4 separate regions of the Homo sapiens genome follow, and all the other regions are linked to region 3. Evidence: promoter capture Hi-C in 16 types of primary human blood cells and fetal thymus (Javierre and others, 2016). All regions are on one chromosome and are shown on one strand. The core of a region is centred on a gene start or on the middle of the fragment in contact, and the rest is flanking DNA. Distances in the headings are between cores, read along the strand shown.

Region 1 (6,831 bases), core at 3,131-5,630, 550 kb before region 3:
ACAGAGTTAAAGGGGAGGTTGAAGGACAAATAAAGGAAAGAAAGAAGGGCAGTCTGATGGAAGAAATATCACTCCAGAGAGTGAAGACCTCGCATCTACTTACATTTTCTCATTAACAAGAGTGTCAGTTAATCTGCCTGGGCATCAATTTCCTGATCTGTAAAATATGGTAATAATAATACCTTATGCTGTGGTAAAGACTCTACTCTGTACTCGCCAAACCTATTTTTTTTTCCTCCTGGGCACACAGCTAAATGACATTTTCCAGGTGCCCTGGGCAGTTAGTTAGATCAGGTCATATGGACTAAATACTGGCCAATGGAACGTGGGTAGAAGTGATATACTTTGGTGCCAGGTTGAATCCTTAAAACTTCCTTTGAGATATTTTATGTACTCTCTTTTCCTTGTCTGCTGACTGGATTCTGAAGATCGAGGATTCTGAGGTCCTAGAAAAATGAACCTCTAGATCTGTACTGTCCAATGTGGTAGCACTTGAAATGTTTTTGCTAGTCCAAATTGAGATGTATTCTAAGTATAAGATACACACTGGATTTCAAAAACTTTGTGTGCAAAAAAGAATTTGAAATTGTTTATTAATAATTTTATATTAATTACATGTTAAAACAATATTTTGGACAAATTGGGTTAAATAAGAGATATTAAAATTTATTGTGTTTTTACTTTCTTGATTTAGAAAATTTAAAAATCGCAAGTATGATTCATTTGTGGCTTCTACTGTATTTTTATTGGACAGGGTTGCTTAGGAGGGAAGGAACCTCAGTCCTTGAATAACTGATAGAGCAGAGCTTTCCAAATACTTTGGTGTGCCACAGGCTAGAATGCACTTGCAATGGGAAACTTCAGGGCTTGACCTTTGTTCTTTAAGAGTCCATTTGAAGGTTCCCTGTATACATACCTGCCCCAGTTAAGGTAAAGGAAAAAGGAACTTGTTTATACCAAGTCAGGATAAAGGGAATGGGGGAAGGTATCTTATGATATGGTGGTGACTATGACCATCATACCTGTAGACACTAGAAACATCTGGCATAACTAGCAAAGAAAAAGAGAAAAGGTTGGGAGACACAAAGATCAGTCAAGAATACACAGCCCTTTTGATACAGACTTTTCCCCATATATGGTAATTAAGACTAAAGTACAGAACTTCTCAGGGAAGCTTCTGTACTCAAATCTTCACCATTCTAAGTAGTATTAGCACCTACACTGGCAACACCATACCAATTCTGGGTAGATATGCTGCATGAACACAACTTCAACCATTGGCACCTATGCATCCCATATAGTAAGTGTGCCCTCCTTCCAACCAGGGACTCTGGGGAAGTATGCTCAGCGTCACAGAGTGACAGAAGTATAGGAAGTGATCATTGGTTCACTATTGTATTATCCCTCTGTCCTTGTAATAAGAATCACATTCAGACATAATGCAATATTCATTTTAAGCTAGATGTCAATAAATAATCTTATCAAGTAAATACTTCATGGCAATCTGCCAAATGAACAGGTCATGGGTTATGTGTGGGTAACTACTTCTCTACAAAGCACATTCAAGTATTTTGTTAGCAAGATCATTGCTTAAAATAATCTGTTTATATTTCCTGCTGATAACTTCATGGATCATGCTGATGAAACATGTTAAGTGAGTTTTCCTTCCCTCTTCTCGTCTCTCTTTTCTTGAAAGTAAAGACCTAGTCTAACTGGATAAAGTACAAAGATCCTGGAAAAAAGAATCAAAATCTGAGTTTTGGGTGTTTCTTAGACATATCAATTACAATTAGATTTTTATAGATAAGAGCTAAATATAGATATATTGTTTTGGTACATACAAATACAAATTCTTACTGCAAAGCTTTAGTTTTTTTAATCAGGTACATATGTACATATTTAACAAGTTCTATTCCTAATAATAGGTCTTTGGTATGAATGAGTATTCATCAACTAAAATTGTCAGAGTTTTAGGTTAAAAACCATGTAACAAACTAATACTGTGTCTAATCTCGCTCTCTTTTTAAGTGATTAATGATTGAAAAATTAAACATGTAAAATATATATTAATAATATTCAGTATCATTTTTAGTTTTATAATACATACCAATGATAAGATTAATAAATATTATGTAAATATCTCAACCATCATGTAATATATTAATAGTGATATTTAATATTATTATTACAGTGTCAAAAATGTTATCCAAGTTCTATTCTGAGCAACAATAACACTGCTTTGTATTATCTACCATATTTATCTTCTAAACAGTGTAAATTATAATACAGAAAGATCTGTCTACATAAGACTAAAATCAAACATCATCCAAAACTGAAGGAGGGAGCAGAACAACTTTCCTAATTGTATAAAAAATGACAGCCCAGGCTGGGCACAGTAGCTCATGCTTATTATCCCAGAACTTTGGGAGGCTTAAAAATTAAAATTCCTTCTTCCACTCTTTCTCTCTTTTTTTTTTTTTTTTTTTGCTGTTACACTTATTTTTTATCATGTGTTTTAAGTTTTTGTGTTGTGAAATATAGCTTGATAAAAGTTGATAAATCATAACAAATAATCATAAGGTGAACACATGTGTAACCACTACTCTGATAAAGAAATTGAACATTGCTAACAGCCAAGATGCTTCACTTTCTTCAGGTAATACCCAGTTCATGAAAGGGCTGAACAACAGCTCCAATTTTTTCCTATATCCTCCATGGTACCAGGGGCAAATATTCATTCATTTATTTGTTCAACAAATATTTACTGAGTGCCAACAATGTGTGAGTACTCCACTAGGTAGTATGTGCTACATAGAGTATGGAAAGCAAAGGAAGGGTTCCAGTAAAACCCCAGACATGGACCAAAAAAAAAAAATTATTGAAGGTATGCTGATTACAAGGTAAGTGAAGTTTCTCAATGAATGGAACAAAGTATAGATTACAAATTAATTGCTACCTTTTTGGACATATGTAAATGAAGTTAAATTGTTTTTGGCTCTTACACCTTGAGAGATCTTGTGAGGCCAAGGGATGTCCTCTTACACCCTCCCGCCCACTTACCCCTCTGCCACATGATATCTTGAGTGCACCAGAACTGGGAATAGTTCTCGCTCCCTGACTACAGTAGTTTCTTAAGGGCAAGACCAAGTAGTGTTGCTCATCCTCGAATTCCCAATGGCTGACCTACAGGAAAGCCTCAATTAAAAAAAGCAAACAAACTGGTGGATTAATGAACAAATATTTGCTACATAAAATAGTCAATATCTAAAATAAAAGTTTTAAGGCCAATATCTAAAATAAGTTCTGTTGTGGAATTTTCCCTTAATATAAAGAAGTCATGCCTTAAGATGTTGATATACATATTGATATATTTGATTACTAAATAGTGCTTAGAATTCTAAGTGTTAAAGATTATTTTAATTTTTAAGGTATCTATAGAAGCTAGAGTTTCATATGAATGACTGGAAAAAAATGGCTCCTGCACCTAACTCAGGAGACATTAATTGTTATATATTCAGGACTGATATTCAGCCAGCATGCACCAGTGAAGCCATACCTTTTATATCTGGCACTCATTCTAATTGGCCAGTGCTCATTTCATGCTAAATGTTAAGTATATGAAAATCTTGCATTATGTGGGCTGTAAAATGACAGTCACATGACAATGGAGGAGGAAGGACTATAAAAGCCATAACATTGTAGAAATGGAATTGTAGAAGGACGACTGAAAACTATCAGTGAATTCTACTTATACCTTGATTAATCGAATAAGTATTTTAATAAATTAGTTTCACAGTTTTTACATAAATACCTTAGATTGAAACTCCCTAAAAAAGAAAAGACTTTCAAAGAAAGCTGAAATGGCTATATTGACATGAGAAAAAGTAAATTTCAGAGCAAAGACTATAACCAAGGATAAAAAGGATCATTTTATAATGATAAAGGGATGAGTTCATCAAGGAGCACAACAATCCTAAATGTTAATTCACCTAATGAGACAGCTTCAAAATACATATAGCAAAAACTGAAAGAACTTCAAGGAGAAACAGACAAATTCACAATTTTAATTGGAGATTTTAATGCCCCTCTTTCAAAAATTGATTGGAAAAAAATATATATATATATAAAATCACTAAGGGCATAGAGAGAAGATGTGAACAACACTAGCAACCAACTTGACCTAGTGCCATTTTAGGTAAATTAGGAGAGTCAACCAAAACAGTAGAATACTTTCTTTTCTACTAAAACAGTAGAATACATTCTTTTCAAGTGTCTATGGAACATTTCCCAAGATAGACTATGATCATAAAATGAGTCTCAATAAATTTTAAAAGATTCAACTTATAAAAAGTATGTTCTCTGACCACAACTGAATTATAGAAAGACTTTTGGAAAATCCCCAAATACTTAGAAAAGAAATAATGCACTTCTAAATACTCCATGAGTCAAGAAAGTCAAAATGTAAATGAGAAAGCATTTTAAATGAATGAAAACAAACATACAACATGAGATTCTCACTAAAAGCAGGACTTAGGAGATAATTTATAGCACCAAACACCTATATAAACATGAGGAAAGGTTTCAAATCAATGACTTCAGATTTCACTCTAGAAAAGGAAAAAGAACACTAAGATACTATGCATAGAGAGACCCTAACACTGTGACACACATTCGATTACTGGCAAGCTATCCAGAGGATGAACTTTCTCAAAGATAACCCCCAAATCCTGCTAAATATCAACTCCCAGCCATTGAGGATGTATGCCCACGGTCTCCGGATCTCAAAAACACCGTAGGCAGCACTTGGCAGAAACATAAGTTCTTTTTAAGAGACCAAACAAAGAAGTTAAGAATTAAAAGAAGGACATAACACATGCATACTGGATTTATTCACAGGAAGTAACTCTGGATGATCTACTTTTTAACTAGACAGCTCTCATACTTCAATTATAAGAATATATTTGGTTCATACGACTACTGTTGGGCACTTAAGGCTAACCTTTCATTAATATGAGTTAATGTTCATTAAATAACTAGGTTGAGCCATACAAAATTGCCATTTTTATAGGTCAAAAATTGTCAAATATTGGCAATTTCATATGGTTCAAGCTAATAATTCCTGAGGCTGCAATACATTAACAATATGTTAGATGGGTAATAATACTGCAGCTTTTCAAGTATATTAGTGACATTAATATACAAACAGTAGGAAAATATTCTTTTCAACTTTTTTTTTTTAATCTCAAGTCTCAGACCATGACCCTTCTCTCCAGAAAATCTTTCTCCACCGAAGGCACAATTTAACATCCAATATATCAATAGGCCACTCCCAAATCCCCTTAGACATCCTTCTAAGGACCCCCAAGGGCTTCATGTGATCATATAATATACATATATATACACATGTACATATACATGTACATCTGTGTGTATACTTCAAGATCATAAAAATGCAGTTTTTGTTCCTGAGAAACTTATCCAAAGTTATGCACCATCAGTGAATCTCAATTTAAGAACCTGACATGCAAAAAAGAACCATCAAAGCATAAATTTAGTTGTAACTCTCTATTCATTTTATACATAGATTCCTTAAAAGTGATCAGCTTTCCAAGTATGTGTTAAGTCATTCTAATTACAAAACCTGATTTACATGTTTTAGGAATATGTCTGTCATGTGACATGAGGTATAAGTTTGAATAAATGCTGGATTAAATAACCTAATCAGGTAGAAGTCCCAAAGCATCATTTACAGCATTCACATACTTATTATACAGCATTTGTATACTTACTTTATGTGCCAGATACTTGAAGCCAAAACTAAATTTGATACTTTATAATACAGGTCAACATTGGGGTAAGAAGAACAACAATATTGCAGCAATTTATGTTACTTACACTGATACGGGCACAAACAGTAGTTTAACTGAGTTTATTTGGAAAAGAGTAGTGTTGATTTTCATCTTACTCTTCAAATAAAACCCAGACCCTATTAAGCAGTTTAAAAAAATAAGAAAACCATATGTTCTGGAATATACTAACAGGCTTAACATTTTCTCCCACTGTTTCCCACAAACACAAAAGCCTGCCTTTTGGAACAAGAATAAGGAAAATAAAACAGAAAAGAGGAAGGTAAATTTTAAAGATGCATTTTACCACGCGCCAGATAAGTCGCACTTTGTGTGAATGCTCTCAGCCTCCCTTATGTCCTAGAATTTAAGTGAACTTGGGTAACAACAATACGAAGACGTTCATTTGGCATACTGTCTAGTTAGGGAGTGAAGCAGTGTCCACTAACATAAACGTGCTATGTGCAGGAGAGAGGCTTGAGATTCTCATGCCCAACTCTGAAACTGAACAGTTTAATGACTTCTGTCAGTCTTATAAGGAATGCCAGATAAACAACAGCCTACCTGAACTGCACAGCAAGAGGTCCAAAATGTGGTGTGGTCCTAAACAGGCTGCTGTCACTTCATGTCCCTCAGCCAAGCCATTCGCTTCTGTCAGCTACTCCACCACCAACCAACAGGTTGAAAGCAGAGCAGAGAAAGCCCAGATCTTGTAACTCAAGTCGATTTGGTTTTTCATCAGCTGTCTCTAGTTAACCAGCTTTACAAACAGAATCTAAAACATAACATATGACTTTCTTTCCATACCTGAACACTTAAGGTCTAACTGCCTAGACACTTGTTATGAACTGTAACTATAGCAAGGTTTCAAATCCTCAGTCACTCAGCTCCCAGACTGCTAAGTGGAATTTCATTCCACATGTGCCCCCACAATTAACAGGGTTATTTTAGGCACTGACCTAAGTTCTCAGAGAATGTAAGCTGA
Region 2 (6,281 bases), core at 2,404-4,903, 530 kb before region 3:
TTCCTTTTCAGAAAGCATTCTCCCTATATTCCTAGGAGTCCTTTAACATGTCAAATTCTCATCTCCTCTCCCCCCAAAATATTTTCTTCAGCTCCCTCTAATTTAAGACTATCTCTTTCTTTGTGGATACTAATTTTATTCTGAGTCAAAGGGGGGACACAGTAGAAATCAGGAATTCTTGGCCATTATACCAAGGGATCCTGTTTATGCTTCTCTTCCATTTCCTATCTCACACTAACCATTTTCTCTTCCTCCATCTGCACAGCCAGTCTCTATCCATCCCCATTTCCTGCCTAAAAGAGTGATAATCATCTTTCTTTATATTTAGTCATCACAATGTAGTTTATGTGTTCTAGGAGCTCTCTATAAAATCAACCTGAATGTTCACCTTCTTTCCCCTGACGAGCCTTGAGCAGACCTATATTTCAGGCTAAATCTAGTTTTCTCCTTGCTGATTATCTCTTTCTGGCATCGAATTAAATTTTTGTTTTTTTTATGGTAGAGGTCTCCTCTGATGTGTCTTTTACCACATTTGGTTTTCCCTCGGAAGACATTTAGCCCATCTTTGATCCTTGTCACCCACAGGCTGTTAGTGTTACTGCTGCTGCTTCACATCTTGACTCCAGTTGGAGCTTGGAATTCTCCTTTTCACTATTCACTTAATCATTCAGTCATCTGTTTAGCAGATGGACCCGCATTTCCCTGACATCTATTCCATAGTTTCACAGATCTGGGCATGATGTCTTCCTGACACATCTGATGGCAATCACACAGGGACTTGGCTTGTGGGCACACGTACGTGTGTGTGTGTGTGACTTCTTGGCAACAACATTCACTAATGTTGGCTCTTAATCACTGAATAAGAGCACCCAAAACTCCATACAAGGCAAATGCTCAGCACATGCCTTTGCTCTGAATCTTCAAGTTTGCTTTTGGCATTTAGGGCTGATGCCCACTATGTCTGTCAAGCTATGTGAAAGATTCACTAGGGAGGCTCAACCCCAGCCATGCAATGCCTGTTGACAGGAGAATCTAAGACTCTCTCATCATTCTAGCTATATTTATAAAGTGCTCACTATGGCCAGGCATCATTTTAAGCAATTTCACAAATACTATCTAACTTAAGGCTCATTGCACCTCCATGAGGTAGATGCTATTATCATGACCATCATTTTACAGAAGAAGAAAATGAGGCACAGTGAGCTGCTTTATGTAACCCTGTAAGAAATGGAGCTGGAATCTGAACCCAGACAGTTGGGCCCCAAGAATCAACTCTCTTAACCTCCATTCTAAATTGCCTCTCAGCTGTAGCAAGATTGCTATAAAGAAAAATGCTTCATTACTGAAAAGATCTGGCTAAATATGATTTTTGGAACCAAAGTAATAAATATGCCAGAAGGCATTTTTGCAAGTCGGTGATACAACACCGTCTTGAAATTGCAGCACTAAATTCATTTGTTAGGACAGACATTCACATACATATAACAGCCAAGTTGCCTAAGAGTTGAGCTCCAACCTGCCAGCCTCAGCCACTGCTTGGGAGAACTGCGAACCCCAATCTCAGCTTTCCTCTTCAGTTGCTTCTATGTATAAGATGGACCCAGGACCCCTCTTAAGGGCCTGCTATCCTCTCTCCCACACCCCTTCAACACCGCCAGGCATGGAAATAAAGGAAGATCTGGAGCTCCTTCAATGGAAATTCCAGGCACCTAGCTAGCCCTGAGAAGTAAATGAGCAACTTGGTAAGCAAGAAGGTAGCAGTAGCTTAAAACAATAGCCAAGGAAGTTAGGGTCATGAGATGTTCCCTGTAGAAATTAAAGATAACATCTTAATGTGAGTTGTTTTTCAGAAACCCAGACCCCTTCCAAATGGATCCACTGGCATGTAGACCTCAGATAAAAGGGAACTGAGGACTGAACTCTGACTGCTGTTCTTTGTTCTAAATTTCTTCCTGAGGAGCCTGGAAGAGGTCATACCCATGAGCCAGAGCTAACTTTCTTTTCTGCTGATCACAAATTTTTAGATAAAGCTTCATCTCCTTAACCAATTGCAAATCAGGAAACCTTTGAATCTATCTATGACTTGTAAGACCCCGCTTTAAGATATCCCACCTCTTTAGGCCAAACCAATGTATAACCTCTGTGTATTGATTGATGACTTTGCCTATAACCTCTGCCTCCTCACCTTTAAAAGGCCTTACTTGTAAGCCACTGTGGAGGCTGGGTCTTAAGTGTGAGCTGCTGATTCTCCTTGCTTGGCATCCTGCTATAAATGCTTCACTTTCTCTTGCAGCAATCCCTATGTCAGTATTTGGCTTTGCTACACCAGGCAAGGGGATCCCAGTTTAGTTTGGTAACACTTACGGAAAATCCCTCCCTATTATTTTAGCACTGTGATTCAGAAAGATCTTCAACTTGCGGCCCGGTGTCTGAAGGTTTTAATCTTTATCTGACACAAGTCAAATATGACTAGATAAAATTCGATGGGAAACAGGGCTAAAATCCAGTAGGAGACTTGCATTCTATACAAAAATCTTATTGCAATATATCTTTGAGGATAATGCACACAAGGAAAGTTCAACTTAAACCTCTTCCAGATCCTACTTCGCTGTTTACTTATGTCCAAGTAGGGTCTGAGATGACTTTGGGGGCTTCCAAATAAGGAGGCACTATGCATTTCTCCCCAAGCCTCTCAACTCAGTAAGGAAGTGCTTCTATATAGATCCATCCTCCTTGCCTAGCCTTCTATGGATAAAGATTTTTAAAACTAATCATTATAAAAACTTTAAGAGCATGAGGTCAGAATTTTTGTCACTTGTGTTTACTGCTATGCCAAGAATAGTTTGACATATGGTAGGCATTAAATATTTGTTGAATTGATAAATATAAGGTCCTAGAAAATATATCACAAAAATATGTTTAAGAACAATATATTGTTTATTTCTGCATATAAACATGAAAATTTAAAGGTACCAAATAGATAATAATTATAATATTATACAAGTACTGCTAGTTAAAAATGTACTTAAAACATTTTTATGAGTAGTTAAAAGAGCTGAAGGCCAGGCGCAGTGGCTCACGCCTGTAATCCCAGCACTTTGGGAGGCCGAGGCGGGCGGATCATGAGGTCAGGAGATCGAGACCATCCTGGCTAACATGGTGAAACCCCTTCTCTACTAAAAAAAAAATACAAAAAAATTAGCCGGGCGTGGTGGCGGGCGCCTGTAGTCCCAGCTACTTGGGAGGCTGTGGCAGGAGAATGGCATGAACCCAGGAGACGGAGCTTGCAGTGAGCAGAGATAAGCCACTGCACTCCAGCCTGGGTGACACAGCGAGACTCCGTCTCAAAAAAAAAAAAAAAAAAGAGCTGAAAATGATTTCTGTCTGCAGACTCTGCTCATCAGATTAAGATGTAAGGATGCAGGTGAGCAGGTTGGTTGCATGCCAGTGCTGCAAAGAGAAGCTGGTTTTGCTCGATCTTCCACATTGACAGAATTCATAGCATGCCTTTTTGGAAGCTTTGCTCTGCATAGAATTGTCAATATGCACCTGCCATCAGTCCTTCAAGACATCTTGCCCAAAATATCACCTTTAAAATAAGAACCCACAACAAAAACTAACATTCACTAAAAAGGATTAATGGAGGGGATGCCTGAATCAGCTGTAGCCAATGTGAAGGTAGAATGGTGTTGTAAATAAGAGAGCAGAAGGCTTTAGAGATGCCCTGAACATCAGCCTTAGCATTATTATTATAATAACAACTGTGGGTCTTTGGAAGAGAAGCTTAACCTCTGTGCCTCAGTTTCCTGTGTTGTGTGTCAGGACTAGGACCCACATCACAGGATAAGGACAAAACATGATAGTGCATGCAAAGTATCTGACATATAGTAAGCGCTGAACAAAGGTTCACTGTGATTATTATACATCCATAAACCATTGAAAGTAAATTATAGACGAGTACTACACTGAGATGTACATTCCTTTGTATAAGGAATGTTCATCAGGCTGTAGCTCTACGTATGTATTTCCAGAGAGAACATTTAAAGAAATATACTTCCTGTGTCTCAAAAGTACAAAACTGAGAACAAATGTGCTACAGCTGTGGAAGTGAACATATGTACACCTCTCCCAAATGAATGGTAGGTTAGAATTTTCATCCGTTTTGCCAAGAAATTCATATAATTCCTATTCTCCAAAGCAAATAGCAAATAAACAAATTTATAGAAATTTAACAGAGAAATCTGGAATCAGAACAAATTTTGGAAAATGAGTGAAGTGCAAATATCAAACAATTTCTAAAATAAATGCAGGACCAAATGAACTGGAAACATATTCCATGAAGGAAACTTAAATCCTCATCCCCCTTGGGGAAAAGTGCTAGTTTCCTGCAAGATTCAATCCCTATTTCTTTAATGTGTGTGAACTATAAGCCAGCCCCACCTGGAATTTAGTTTGATTACAAATAAGTTTGTCAGATTGTTTACCTTGAAATCTTTCTTCTCTCCTAAAGAATTCTAAGAATGGTACTCGCAGTCACTCAGCTTTTTCATCAGAGAACTTGCTTGTATACAGATGTTGAACCATGTGAGACTACCATTCAATTGCCTTTGACCCACAAAAACAGCAATTTCATATGGTTCACTTATTCTACGTTGGATGGAAGTGGTCTAGGAAGATTTGAGGGGTTAAGGAAGTGGCTCCATAAAGAGAAGATATTTATTCCTTGTTAATGAATTTCACCTCCTCCAAGTTGTTGTGTCACAAAACGAAACACGTGTTGAGGAAGTAGAATCGCTTCATGTGGAAAGAATTAAATTCTCTTAGCATTGATGAAAAAAGACAGTGGGCTGGGCACCGTGGCTCACACCTGTAATCCCAGCACTTTGGGAGGCCGAGGCGGGTGGATCACCTGAGATCAGGAGTTTGAGACCAGCCTGGCCAACATAGTGAAACCCCGTTTCTACCAAAAATACAAAAATTAGCCAGGCACGGTGGTGCATGCCTGTAATCCCAGCTACTTGAGAGGCTGAGGCAGGAGAATCGCTTGAACCCAGGAGGTGGAGGCTGCAGTGAGCTGAGATCGTGCCACCGCACTCCAGCCTGGGTGACAGAGATCCTGTCCCAAAAAAAGAAAAAGAAAAAGAAAAAAAGACAGTGATGCTCACATTGAGAACAGCAGCAGATCCATGACCCAGCTGTATGAGGTGTCAAGGAAGTGTAACTATTAACCAAACGAAGAAAACAGTGGTGTCCTGCCCAATGTGCTGGGATGAAAGCCACATATGTGGTGGATGAACAAGTTATTCTGAGAAACAAGACCAGGCAGTTACCTACCATCTAAAGCACTAGAATGTCAGTCCCCCCGCACCTCCCGGTAATCCACACCCCTTCAAATGAACCTTGTCCTGGCAGGTTTACTAGAGTTGCAAAATGCTTGGATCTGCAGGAATGCAAGCAGCAAGCACCTCACCCCACTAATTTGGCATTTCAAGCTCTTCTTCCTTTCTCTCTTTCTGCTTTGGAATTTTCATTAGAGTATGACATTTGACTCATTCTGAGAGCAAACATTATATTTTCTGGCTTTTCTAATTTGAAAAACAGATGGTCTCCTCACTGGCCCTAGGGAAAAAAGAAAAACTTGTTTTAACAATTTCATCTGGCTTCTACTTCTCATTTTCTAGTTTTCAAACATGTAATTCTATTATTACCTGTTGTATGTGAGGCTGTGGGCAGCCTCTGAAGTAGTAGGCTTCCTGCACAGCACTATGTCTGAGGGCCACACCTCATTCTCTCCCATCTTCACTGCAGTCCCCATCCCCATTGCCCACAAAAAGCAAAGTAAAAAATAACTCTAAATTATCATCTATGTTATAAGTATTGCTTCAAAACTTGTGATAAGAAAGCTGTAGGTCAGTCTTAGAGAAAATACAAAAACACAGAAACTGTTTTTCACATTATAGCTCCAACATTCCACAGGGATTTATATTTAGGCAAATATGTGTGTTTGGGTGAGCTTCTGGGCTCAACTTTAATCATTCTGAGAGAGAAAGAATCCAACCAGTTTAAACTAGATTTTCACTCTTTGTAACCCATGTGGCATTCCAAACATTTCTAAGCATTAGGATTACATCATTTTCTCTTTTTTTTTCCTTTAATACAAACAGCCATTATATTCTATTTTCACGACCTTTAAGTTCCCAATATCAAATTACCCAGCTGTTGTTTCAATCTCTCTTAGTTGCTAAGAGATGGTGATGGTGGCAGACCAGACCGATTTTCTT
Region 3 (6,536 bases), core at 1,165-3,664:
CCTGGTTAACCTTTTGTGCTGTCCAAAGCACCGATGGTAAAGAACGCCAGAGGGATTCTCAGATGCTGAGAACAGATTCCAAGAGCTCTGAGAGGCATGGAAGGAGGGGCCATGTGCTGCCGGGAGAAGTGAGGACCTTTGTGATCAGTCCTACGTCAGGGGCAGACGGCCCCAGTACTTAGGTCTATCCAGGCTGGCACTGTCCACGTGTGGCCATTGAAATGTGGCTGGTGTGAATTGAGATGTGCTGTAAGTGTAAAACACATGTACGATTCCAAAGACTTAGCATGAAAAAGGAATGCCAAATATCTCATTAATCATTTTTTATGTTGATGACTGTTAAAATAAGATTTTGGAGGGTTAAGTTAAATAATATAGATTATTAAAATTAATCTCACCTGTTTCTAGTTTTTTCAATGTGGTTATAATATATGAAGTTACATAAGTGACTCACCCTTGTGCCCTGTATTATATTCTCACTGGACAGAGCTGATCTGTAGCCCCAGACTGTTTCAGACCATGCCTTACCCCACCAACCAGGGTCCAGCTGCTGGGGCTCAGCTCTATCCTAGCTTGGGTCTCTGCACAGTGGCAGCTTTGGTGACCAATATACTCTGTAACTGCTGTAATTTAGGGGTGTCCCTGACTCTGAAGCCAACTGCAGAGGTTGAGAATAAGAAATAACTACATTTTCATGCATTCACTCACATTTCTCCTCCCAACCCACCACTCTAACTGTCTTTCTTTTAGCACAACTGTTGTAAATACATGATCCCCAGAACAGCAGCATCGCATCACCTGGGAACTCATTAGAAATGCAGATTACCAGGTACCATCCAGAAACTCTGAATCAGAAACTGTGCCCAGCAATCTATGCTTTAACAAGACCCTCCCCACGAGGACATTATTCTGATGAATTCTAATGTTTGAGAACCAGGGTCTTAGGGCACTGTTTCTGAAACTTTGTAGTGTATTAAAATCATGTGGGGTGCTTTAAAAAATTCCAATGCCCAGGCCACACCCCAGGTCAAGTAAATCAGGTTCTGTGGGGGTAGAACCCAGGCATCGGATGGATGTTTGGAAAACTCTCCACTGATTCCAATGTGCAGTCACAGTTGAGCCCCATTGCCTAAGGGTAAAGAACTCAAGAATATTAGTCGGCCATTTTCCCTATGGTGGAGAGCCTGTAGCTTTGAGCCCCGTAGAGAGAAGCCTTCCTGTGGGAGGAGAAAACAGTGTGTAAAATGAAGAAAGGGGCCAAACTGGGCATGCCTAAGCTTCGAAGGCCTCTTTCATTATAGGCTAGCTGCTGTAATGAAACAGGCAATTGCACCTGAGATTTTTCTGAAGTTGAAATGACCACGTGGAAAGGGAACAGCTTCTCTCCACAGTCCATCAAGAGGGGAGTGGCCAATGGGCCGCTTGGAGGACAAAGACCAGGGACACGCCCATTATCTGAGGCTTCAGGTATATTAAAATGAAGAAATCCCCAAATAGGGTTTCAAAAATTGTGATATACTATATTTTAGAAGTTTACATTTAATAAATTAAGGCTTTAACACGTGTAAGCTTTAAAAAAAAAACGCACAGGGTAATATAACCATCCTATTCACGGGATAATGGCAGGATTAATCTTAAAAATTCATGGGCCTGGTACCAAAATCAGGCATAAGTTTAAAGCTGATGATCATTTCCATCTTTTCAGTCTTATTAGCATATCTTCAGAGATAAATTTTTAAAAATCCAAATGTGAAGTCTCTGTGAGTGTGAGATCCCTGGATGAAAGGCCCTCCTTTGCCATGCCCCTGGGGCAGACTAAGAGGACCGCTGGAAAGAGATCCTAAGTGTGGCCCTGGAGCAGCTGTGAATGATTAGGTTGTGGGAAGACAACTGACATCTGGGTGCCTTGCGGCAGCCTGACCAGGGAGGTGGTGTCAGGGAAGCCAGAGCACCCCCCTTCCTCAGTGTGTTCCAGAGCAGTACAATACCTGCCTCCCTACACATAATGGATGCCTGCCCACCACCCTCTGTCCTCAGGCACACTTGGCTGCTGACAACAGGAAGTGAAACAGCCACACCCTCCTTTGACCCTATTAAGGTAACTCCTAGTTTGATACAGAGGCTTCCGGGGAGGGAAAGAAATAAGGGAGACACTTACCTTGTGCAGCACCTGCAGTGCTGTTGGTTTATAAAAGCACGAAATCTTCTGTCCCAGAGGCTGGACTGGGCTCATGACTGCATGTGAGATTGTGCTTTGGGAAGAGAAAGCAATCCCAGACTGAACAACAATTTTCTGGTGGCAGGTGCATCCATGAGGAGCTGCAGTCGGTCCCAGCAGCATATGCTTTCTCCTCTGGGAGGGCAACTCGGAGACGTGCAGACTAACGGGACCACTGGCTGCAAGCCTCAGAAACCTCTCAGGAGGTCCCTGGCAAGGCCTGTGGTATCTGGGCAGTGCAGGCAGCCTGGGCACCATAGGACAAAGGGGCGGGGAGTGGGGCAGGGAAGAAACAGCACAGAGGAAACAGCACACCTTGTTCTCATTGACTCGGAGTCAATGGCTGCCCACAGACTCTATTTCCTGGAGATTCAAGCCTCACACTGTCCTGTCCTCTCCCCTGAGTAAGTCTTCCAGAGAGTAAGAGCCACACCCAGGCAGAGGTGGGTGAGGCTGGGGTTCAAAGTACAGAGCCAGCCCTTTTATCTCATAGGCAGAGGAAATCATCCACTGTAAACCCACAGCGTCCTCCACCAGGGCAGCGTTTGATTCCTCCGTCTCATATCTCCGCTTGCCTTCCCTGTGGGTCAGTAGTTCCTGAGTTTCTCTAGCCTATAGAAAACATGAGGAGGAGGAGGAGAGATGGAGGGGGAGGAGGAGGAGAAGAGAAGGGAAGAATGAGCACATGGACTGCCCAGCCCCAGCCCCATGGCACCAGCATGGTAAACACTTGGAGGGAGGCCAGCCGTCTGGCGCCTCCAGTCTTCCACATCACCCCAGCCAAGATTCAGACCTGTATATTCTGGGCTCTTTCTGCCCCATTTCACCCAGGCTTTAAATTACCCAGACTTGGGTCTGGGTTATTCTATCCAAAACTTTCCTCTGAAATCTAGATTGTGATGCAATGTATACGTTCTCTAAATCAGATTTCTGAGGACTAAATGCCAGACCGCGTGGCGTAGCAGTCTGGCTGCAAACCATTTCCGTCAGCCCAGCGGAGGAACGCACAACAAGGTGCTCATCCCCGCAGCCGTGCACAGGAGACAGCAACGGTCCAGGTAAATTAGAAAGGCCTAACTTGAGCCAGCTAGTCATGGCAATTTAGGGAAAGTAAGGACTACACAGAGGCTCTGGGACGGCTTGCGGAATCAATGCCTAAGTTGCTGGATTGCTCCTTCTTTGGCTATGGAGCTAGTGGTTCCAAAATCTACCCCTTGATTCCTTAAGATGGAAGACCATTTAGACAAGCTGAGCCAAAACCCAGAGTCTTGGAACAAGCCTGTAACAATAATAGCAGCAGTAATGACAATGATTTTTAATATTCCTTGCTTAACAAGTGCTGGCCACAGTTCATGTTTTACATGGATTTACTTGGGGAATTTGATCGCTGGATCGAGGTGAGGACCATCCTCACTCCTCAGCTCCCCGGAGGACAGTCCCTTCCCCTCTGCTAGTCCTTTGACACAGACCCATTTTGACTTTTCAACTTCAACATTCTAGTTCAAGTCTTGGCCAGCTGTCAGCCTGGGCTTGTTTCTTCTCATCACAAGAAAAGAAACAGGGCTGCGAAGAGTAGCAAGCCCCTGACTGCTGCCCTTAAATGAGCTAGCCTTTAGGAGAAACACCCGAAGGTCAGGAGGCAAGCACTGTTTGCTCATGGCTATTGTTCCTCTGGGGAGCTGTGAGGGTGGGGTGAGTGGGGGAGGGTCTCTCATTTTGTGACTACACAGTATATAAAAAGCTGAAATGAAAATAATTCAGAAATTATTGTTGTCTTTATAAAACAACCTGTTCTGGGGTACCTTTCTGTACTTCCCTAAGTATATTTAAAACACAATTTTAAAATTCAATTTAACAAAGCCCCATCAAGACACATGCACTGCATCGTGCACATCTGTATAAATGCTCTTAAAGTGCAGGTTTGCATGAACCTTATTTTTCTAGAGGAGTGTGTCCTCTTGGGGAAAGAGGGAAAGAAGGCAGTAAAAATAGCATCGTGTCGCTGCTGACTGTGCATTGGCCACACAGCTAAGCACAGAGTGCCTAGAGAGCTTTGGCAGGATCATCACATGTTGTCCTCACAACAGACCCATGAGGGAGGTATCTCATCCCAATTTACAGATGAAGAAACTGAGGCTCAGGAAGATCAAGTGACGTCTTCATTATCACACAGCCATTAAGAGCTGAGCTTGGTGGGAACTCAGGCTTCCGCGACTCTAAAGACTAGAACTACAGACAAGCTGCAAAGCAAGATCAGGTCAAGATATTCTCCAAAGTTATATCCCGTGGCTCCTCAGTTACAGATGTGATTGCAGAATCCTGCCACTTCTTTTCTTTTTGGTCTCCTTGTTTTCTCAATCCAGTCAGAATGAATTTTAGATGTGTCCCAAGTGCAGTCTGCCTTCAGCCGCCGAGCCACTCAGACACTTGGAGCTAGCCCAAGTAGCCCAAGTAGTAGGTCTGTGAATAAACGTCACTTCTGGAATCATTCTTCAACAAGTACAACTTGACTAGAGAGACTCAAATACCTGCACTGGTCCCAAAGAGCCATCACCCAGTGCTGCCAAGTCTGACCAAGATGCATCCTAGCTAAGGAACCAGTCACACCACTGGCTCTCACGCCATGCCTGAGAGGAGCACAACAGGAGTTTCTCCAGGAAGCTTCCCAACGTTCAGATGAGTTGCTCTCCATGTGGATTCAGCATCCTGACGAGCTGACACCAATTCCAGGCCTGGCATGTCTAACAAATGCAGCATTCAAGCCCAAGACACTGAAATTGTTACCTCATGTTATAAAGGACCTGAAGCTGCATGCAATTAGCACTGCATCTGTGAGACTTGGGAAAGACAACTGAGAGAACAGGGTCTTAAAAAGACTATTTTGGTCCATATGGAAAATTGGTGTGTTGCATGCATGGTAAAATCCTTTCAGATATATTTTTAAACCTTATGTTTTTAAAACTGGGGACTTAAATATTATTATAGGAAAAGCAGCATGATTCCTTTAACATCAGAAGGAGATCTGTAAGTTAAAAAACTGTTGGAACCTTGTAAAGAAATTAACATTGTGAATGAACTCAGGCATTAGTGCAAATTAATCAAACTGCATACATTATAATTTTTAATCAGTCATGGAATTTCAATACTTGAAGGGACCTTGGAAATCATCTGTCCCAAGAGCAAGAATTATGGAAGATAAATGGGCAGGTGGAGAAAAACCTCCTGGCTAGAGAAAGGCACAGAAAAAACAAAGAGTTGGGAGACAGCATGCACAGTGGTTTGAAAGCTCAGGGATTTGCACACACAGCCTGGGTTCGAAGCTCAGCTTTGCTTTTTGATGGCAGTATGAACCAGGCTGAGTTGTTTGACCCTCCTATGTGACAGTTTATAAACAAAAGGTTATTCTGAGTCTTAAGAGAGACCATCCATAGAAAGGGCTTAGTATGGTCCCTGGGATACCATATGGTGCCTGGGACATCAGTGCTGAGTAAATATTAGCTCTATAGAAAAAGGAATTTTACAAACATAATCTGAGTGAGCCAGACTGACACACTATGTATAACTGTGGTCTTTCTCTTTTATTTGGCTATGAAAGAAAAGCAAAATGCAGTATATTGAAGCATTCAGATTTCTGACCATGAGAACAGGACATAATACCCAAGGTCTTTTTTGGAATAAAAAATGATCTTCATAAAAGGGAATCACATTTCAGCTGTAAATAAAGTCAGACCTAATAATCAAGAAAAGAGGGCCCCATGGAGATGGTGAATCACGTATATGAGTAGGTGAAAGCTGCCTCCAAAGGTCTTGATGCAAAGCTGTCCAAGGTTTAGAACTCTGGGCACATTTCTGGCCAAAAGAGGTTCAAAATCATCATCCATGGTGTTCTGTTCTAGTCTTAAGATGGAACTAGTGCTGCATTAAGTGTCTGATTGGGAAAAGTTAATGGTTAACAAATAAGATATAACTCTCTGGGACATCTTGATATAAATTTAGTTTAGCCTTATAGTATAACAATTATTAATTATGCTGAGGGAGGGAACATAGATTGGTGGAAAACTTGTAGGCTCTGGAATAGAACAAATCCTAGAACTGTCAATTGGTACTGTGAGATCTTAAACAAGAGATACAATGTCTTCAACCTCAGTTTCCTCATAGTTGCCATGAAGGGCCAGCACAGTGCTTGCCACACAGCTGGTACCCAAGAGGCATTCATTTTCTCTTTGCATTCATTCTACATTTGTTATATTAAACAGCTCTATTTTTTTTAATTTAAATAGGTTTTTGGGGAACAGGTGGTGTTTGGTTACAAGAATAA
Region 4 (6,092 bases), core at 1,844-4,343, 610 kb before region 3:
ACATATCTTCCAGGTGATTCAGTCCCATCACTCCCCATTTACAGCTGGCTTTATGATTCATTTATACTATCTTCCTGGCCTCTTAATTTTAGTTTGTAGCCCTGATCTAGAGAATAAAGTTCAAACTCAATGATACGTTCACTTACTCATTCCCTTAACTACTCATTTATTCATGCATTCAATAGTATTGATTTTGTGTCTATGCTATGCAAACACTTGGAATTCAAAGTCCCTCATATCTTGGCCCTATTCTTTCTAACTTCACATTCACCTTCCTCTAACAAAGTTATTTCTAACTAGTAGTTAGTTTACGAGACACCTTCCTCCCAATATTCATAGCTTAGAGGCTAATTTCCAAAACGCCTTTGAGGTCAGGTAATGCTATGTGACAAAGTGGGCCAGTGGGATGCGAGCAAAAGTGGCATGTGTAACTTCTAAGTCGTATCCATAAGAAGAAAGGTGGCTGCCCTCCATTTTCCCCTTCTTGTGAGCTGGAATGCAGACATGGTATTGGTGGTGAGCCATAGAAGAGCAAGAGGGAGAAGCAACCTGGACCTCAGGACGACCTCTATCTTCCCTCGACTGTCTGCCTCTAGGTAAAAGAGAAAGAGACTTCTATCTTATTGTATTTTGGGGTCTCTTTGTTTATAGTGGCTTAGCCTATACTCCAAAACACCAACGATTTCTCTTAACTATCACCCAAACATACCTTGAATATTCTTGCCCTCCACCCTGGCATATGCACAAGTTCCTGTCACTAACATTATGCCTCCTCATCTCTGCTATATAAATTCTACTCATCATTCAAGGCCCAGATCAAGTATTCCCTCTCCTGTGATGCTTCATCAAGCTACATTTGTATTATCTTCTTTTTTCTGTTCTCCCACTGCATGAATTTTCCCTTGGCACTTACCAAATATTGTCTTATGTAACAGACACAGAGCCTTGAATTATGTTGCCATATCTACCTCAAGTACTACATCCAGGACCTAAAACAAAATTTTAGATTGTGCATCATAAAAATTAAAAAGTATTCAGAGTTTCTACAGTATTAAACTTCTATACTTTTTGTTTAATAATTATGTGCACTGTCAACTCATGTTCAATCTGTGATCCTTTAGGATTCTTGAATCTTCTCATTTTAATTACAAAACTGAACCTACCCAATTCTTTAAGAATCTGGCTTTTTCCTTGGTATTTAACTAAATCCTAGTTTTCTTTATTCTTGTATCTAAACAATTCCTTGACTTTTTGGATACATATTTCAAAGATTCAGAAATGCACTGAAAAGATCAAGGGCTCCAGTTTGAATGGTAATGAAGAGACAACTCATAGTGTCATCATATTTGGAATCTGAAAGTCTCTAGGACAACACTAGAGGAAGAAAGTAGAAGATACTCTCAAGGAAGGAAAGTTAAAAAAAAATGGGTGACAGAGAGTGAAAACTAGATCCAGAAGAAAAGTAAAGAAAAGCAATGGGAAAGAAGATAAAAGGAAGAGAGAATACAGAGACAAGAGGAGGACTAGCAACTGTGAATGAAAAAGTTAGCATAAGGGAAAGGCACATGCAAAATGGAATGCCAGTGAAGAAAAGTGGAATTCCATAGCCTCAAGACGCTTCCTGATAAGGATACTCATAAGAGATCATTATCAACATCCAAGTAGTGTAGAGCACACTACCACTCCATCAACACTAGGAACACTGGTGCATGGTGGGTATAAAAGAAACATCAAAGGCAAGTAAGAATTGAATTTATAGCAGAATCGTGATTGCAAGTTACTCTGTGGGTGAATAAAAAAGGATACAGCTGTGTTTCAAATGGGACTTATTTGAATCTCAAATCCAGTAAATAATGGCTAGACAGGACTTTTTTTAAAAGAGTAGGCTATAATGGGCCATGCGGCGGCTCCTGTCCATAATCCCAGCACTTTAGGAGGCCAAGATGGAGGATGGCTTGAGCCAAGGAGTTCGACACCAGCCTGGGCACATGGTGAAATGTTGTCTCTACAAAAAATACTAAAATTAATATGAAAATTATCCAGGCATGATGGTGTGTACCTGTAGTCCCAGCTACTGGGTAGGCTGAGGTGGGAAGATCAACTAAGCTCCAGGAGGTGGAGACTTGACGTGAGCTATCATCACGCCACCACATTCCAGCCTGGATGACAGAGTGAGACCCTGTCTCAAAAAACAAAAACAAACCAACAAGAACAAAAAAAGGGCTCTCAAAAGTATTTTTTTTTTCCAAGACAAATTCCAGAAGATGACTTGGTCTTAGCCTTGTAGCTGTGTCTTATCCTAAAAGAAAGCCAAGAGTGAGACCCTTAAAATATGGGTGGGAACTACATTGAAATTTAAAAAAAAAAGAGAGAGAGAGAACTCAAAGACCTAAACATAAGACCCAAAATGATAAACCTCCTGGAAGAAAACACTGAGGAAAAACTTCATGATGTTGGGCTTGGCAGTGAATTCTCGGTTATGGCACCAAAACCACAGGCAACAAAAGCAAAGATAGATAAATGAAACTACATCAAACTTAAAAACTTGATGCATCAAAGGACACCACCAACAGAGTAAATAGGCTACAGAATGGGAGAAAATAATTTGCAAATCATACATATAATAAGGTGTTAATAGTCAGAATGGGCTAGGTGCGGGGGCTTATGCCTGCAATCCCAGCACTTTGGGAGGTTGAGGCAGGTGGATTGCTTGAGCCCAGGAGTTTGAGACCAGCCTGGGCAACAGAGTAAAACCCTGCCTCTACAAAAAATGCAAAAATTAGCCAGGTGTGGTGGCGCATGCCTGTAGTCCCAGCTACTCAGGAGACTGAGGCAGGTGGATCGATTGAGCCTGGGAGGTCAAGGCCACAGTGAGCTGTGATCATGCCACTGCACTCCAGGCTAGGTGACAGAGCAAGACCCTGTCTCAATTAAAAAAACAAAAAAAGAATATATAACGAACTCCTACAACTGAACAACAAAACTCAAATAACGCTATTAAAATATGGGTAATGGATGTGACATTTCTCCAAAGATGATATACAAATAGCCAACAAGTATATGGAAAGATGCTGAACATCATTATTCATCAGAGAAGTGGAAATCAAAACCACAATGATCTATCACCTTACACCCACTACAATGGCTACTATTTTTGTTTAAAAAAACCTAGAAAGTAACAAGTATTGGCAAGGATGTGGGGAAACTGGAACTCTGTACTCTGTTGGTGGGATTGTAAAATGGTGTAACTACTTTGAAAAATAGCATGGAGATTCCTCAAAAAATATACATGATCCTCAAAAAAAAAAAACATCCAGCAATCCAATTTTTGGGTATATACCCAAAAGAACTGAAAGCAGGGTCTTGAAGAGATAATTGTACACCCATGTTCACAGCAGCATTATTCACAATAGCCAAAGGTGGAAGCAACCCAGATTGTCCACTGGCAGATGAATGGATAAACAAAATGTTGAATAAACACATAATAGAATATTATTCAGCCCTAAAAAGGAAAGAAATCCTGTCACATGCTACAACATGGATGAACCTTAAGGACATGCTAAGTCAAACAAGCCAGTCACAAAAAGAAAAATACTATATGATTCCACTTAGAGGAGATACTTAGAACAGTCAAAATTATGGAGATAGAAAGTAGAATGTTGGTTACCCGAGGACAGCAGGGAGAGGGAAAGGGGAGTTGTTATTTAATGGGTATAGAGTTTCAGGTTTGCAAGATGAAAACGTTCTGGAGATCTGTTTTACAACCATGCAAATATTCTTAAACTGTGCACTTAAAAAATGGTTAAGATAGCACATTTTGTTATATCATATTTTTACCACAATAAAGAAAACTCAGAAGGACATGATACTTCTTAATGGCTGCTATCATCAGTATGAATGCTAGGATGCGTTCCTCTGGACCCATTCTACCTCTTGGAAAAGAAATGTAAAAATGAGTGCCAAGTTAATCTCGGGGGAAAAACTTCTCTACCTTCATTATACACAGGTACTAACCACCACTTCCCAGCTCCATCTCTAGCAAGTGCAATGGTAGCCACATTTGTGCTGCTACCACAAAACTGGGAGCATACTTGATTGCAATTTTACAGTCTAGTTACAAAGAGGAAGAACTCAGCTAAATATTTGCTGCCATGAGTCCAAGATAACTTATGTGCAAGGACATCCTTAGCTGGCACCGAAGAAGTTTGTTAAATTAGATTATAGATGTCTCTAGGACAAAATACAACAGCTAAGTCATTGAACTATAATCAAGATGCTCTAATTTGGCATATGAAGACATTTACATCTCTTGTGGACAAACAGGCTCAGCTATGTCATGCATCCATCGATTCTGTATCACTGAGTCCAACTTGACTAAGTCGTATCTTCCAGGACAAGTTTTGAGAATTTAATGGCAGCAGGAAGCCCAAAATGTGAGAGGCGGACCATGCGCTATATCCCAAAGGACAGATCTCCTGAAATGCTTCACTGAGATGGCATACCCTGTGCTGCTTTCTGTCAGCTCCCATAGGAATTATACAGCTGTTAACCCAGCATCAATAATTACCCACCTTATACAAGTGGCTACTTACCAACCAGTTCATCTCTCTTCAGGTCATGAGGAAGAAGTCACACTGTTCATTTACTAATCTAGTAGTGGTCTGTGGGCTTCATAAATCGATTTTATTTGCATATGTGATTATTGTCTAAATTCCCTGGCATTTGACTATATCTCATGGAGAAAACCAAGTTAGCTCTGGCATCCCAGCTGGAATACCAGCTCTCACACTTTGCAGCATTATGACCCTGAGCAAGTCATTTGCATTTAAGCCTGGAGTCCTCATCTGTAAAATGAGACCAATAACAGCTCTTCCATATGCTTGTTATATAAATTAAATGAAAGAATCTACTTCAGATCCTGGCACACAGTAGATGCTGATCAGAAATTATCTCCCTCTCTTCTTCCTTACTCAAGAGCAGGGGTCAGCAAATTTGTTCTGTAAAAGGCAAGAGAGTAAATCTTTAATCTTTTTAGGCCACATGGTCTCTGTCACAACTATTCAACTCTGTCACTGAAATACAAAAGCAGCCACAGACAAACACCATGGCTGAGTTCCAATAAAATAATATTTTAAAAAGCAGGTATTGGGCCACATTTGGCTCACAGGCCATAATTTGCCAATCCCTATTACTTATACCACATATGTCCAGGTATCATGCTAAGTTAATTTTTCACCATTCTGTTTGATTTCATCTGTTCCAGATATATTCTTCCCTTTTATCTCCTTATTGCTTTTATTCTATTTCTTGAATGTATCGGAACAAATGTGTCTGTTTCCATTACTTGACTTCGCTTCTGGCTTTGAATTTTAGGCCTTGAGAAGTTCCCGTAGGTGTTGAGCACTCAGACCTAAGATGCTCTAGTAATTTATTCACACAATGGGTTCTGGGTAAATCAGCCAGAGTTAAGCAAAATCCCCTCAACCCTCAGAAAAAGATTGGGAACAGACCATCCCTTGGGAACTCAGAGTTTACTAGGAGTTTTTATTTGTGGAAAGGGAATGGTTACAACTGATTCCCCAGTTTTAAAAATATTGCCTTAAAATTTTTGTTTTCATTGGCTTATATATGTAAAGGCCTTCTTAAAAAATATGTAAGTACTAAAAACAATAGTGATCACATATGGTGAAGTGAGAATTCAAGATGGAGTGATAAGGATGAGAGGGGGATTTACTGAGTATTTTTAAATGTCTATGATTTAAAACCATGTGAATATATTATCCAAAAATCAATTTTCCCAAAGAATAAAGAAATCTTGGCCAGGCGCGGTGGCTCACGCCTGTAATCACAGCACTTCGGGAGGCCAAGGCAAGTGGATCACAAGGTCAGAAGTTCGAGACCAGTCTGGCCAACGTGATGAAACCCCGTTTCTACTAAAAAAAATACAAAAATTAGCTGGGCATGGTGGTGGGTGCCTGTAATCCCAGCTACTGGGGAGGCTGAGGCAGGAGAATGGCTTGAACCCAGGAGACCCAGGAGGCGGAGGTGCAGTGAGCTGAGACCGTGCCACTGCACTCCAGCCTGGGTGACAG

The links. The method cuts DNA at HindIII sites, captures the fragments that hold promoters and counts their contacts. A CHiCAGO score of 5 or more calls a contact.
Region 1: a fragment that was not itself captured here is called in contact with the fragment with the promoter of LINC02313 in region 3 in 1 of 17 cell types (M0 macrophages); the score reaches 5.2 in M0 macrophages.
Region 2: a contact is called between a fragment that was not itself captured here and the fragment with the promoter of LINC02313 in region 3, in 4 of 17 cell types (megakaryocytes, M0 macrophages, M1 macrophages and 1 more). The highest score is 7.2, in megakaryocytes.
Region 4: a fragment that was not itself captured here is called in contact with the fragment with the promoter of LINC02313 in region 3 in 1 of 17 cell types (M0 macrophages); the score reaches 6.0 in M0 macrophages.

The regions. Positions count from the first base shown.
Region 1 is chr14:32,494,984-32,501,814 of GRCh38, reverse strand. All of the region lies in intron 2 of AKAP6 (A-kinase anchoring protein 6), which reads right to left. Among named protein-coding and RNA genes, the nearest start is that of AKAP6, 170 kb to the right of the region's middle. The HindIII fragment of the contact is 5,027 bases long and covers 1,867-6,831 here.
Region 2 is chr14:32,472,762-32,479,042 of GRCh38, reverse strand. All of the region lies in intron 2 of AKAP6 (A-kinase anchoring protein 6), which reads right to left. Among named protein-coding and RNA genes, the nearest start is that of AKAP6, 150 kb to the right of the region's middle. The HindIII fragment of the contact is 265 bases long and covers 3,521-3,785 here.
Region 3 is chr14:31,940,731-31,947,266 of GRCh38, reverse strand. It overlaps LINC02313 (long intergenic non-protein coding RNA 2313), which reads right to left and starts at 2,414. Exons shown (of 2, transcript NR_146544.1): 1 at 2,159-2,414. RefSeq lists an enhancer at 1,933-3,132. The HindIII fragment of the contact is 3,310 bases long and covers 1,572-4,881 here.
Region 4 is chr14:32,553,197-32,559,288 of GRCh38, reverse strand. The region is part of intron 4 of AKAP6 (A-kinase anchoring protein 6); the gene reads right to left. Among named protein-coding and RNA genes, the nearest start is that of AKAP6, 230 kb to the right of the region's middle. The HindIII fragment of the contact is 6,899 bases long and covers 1-6,092 here.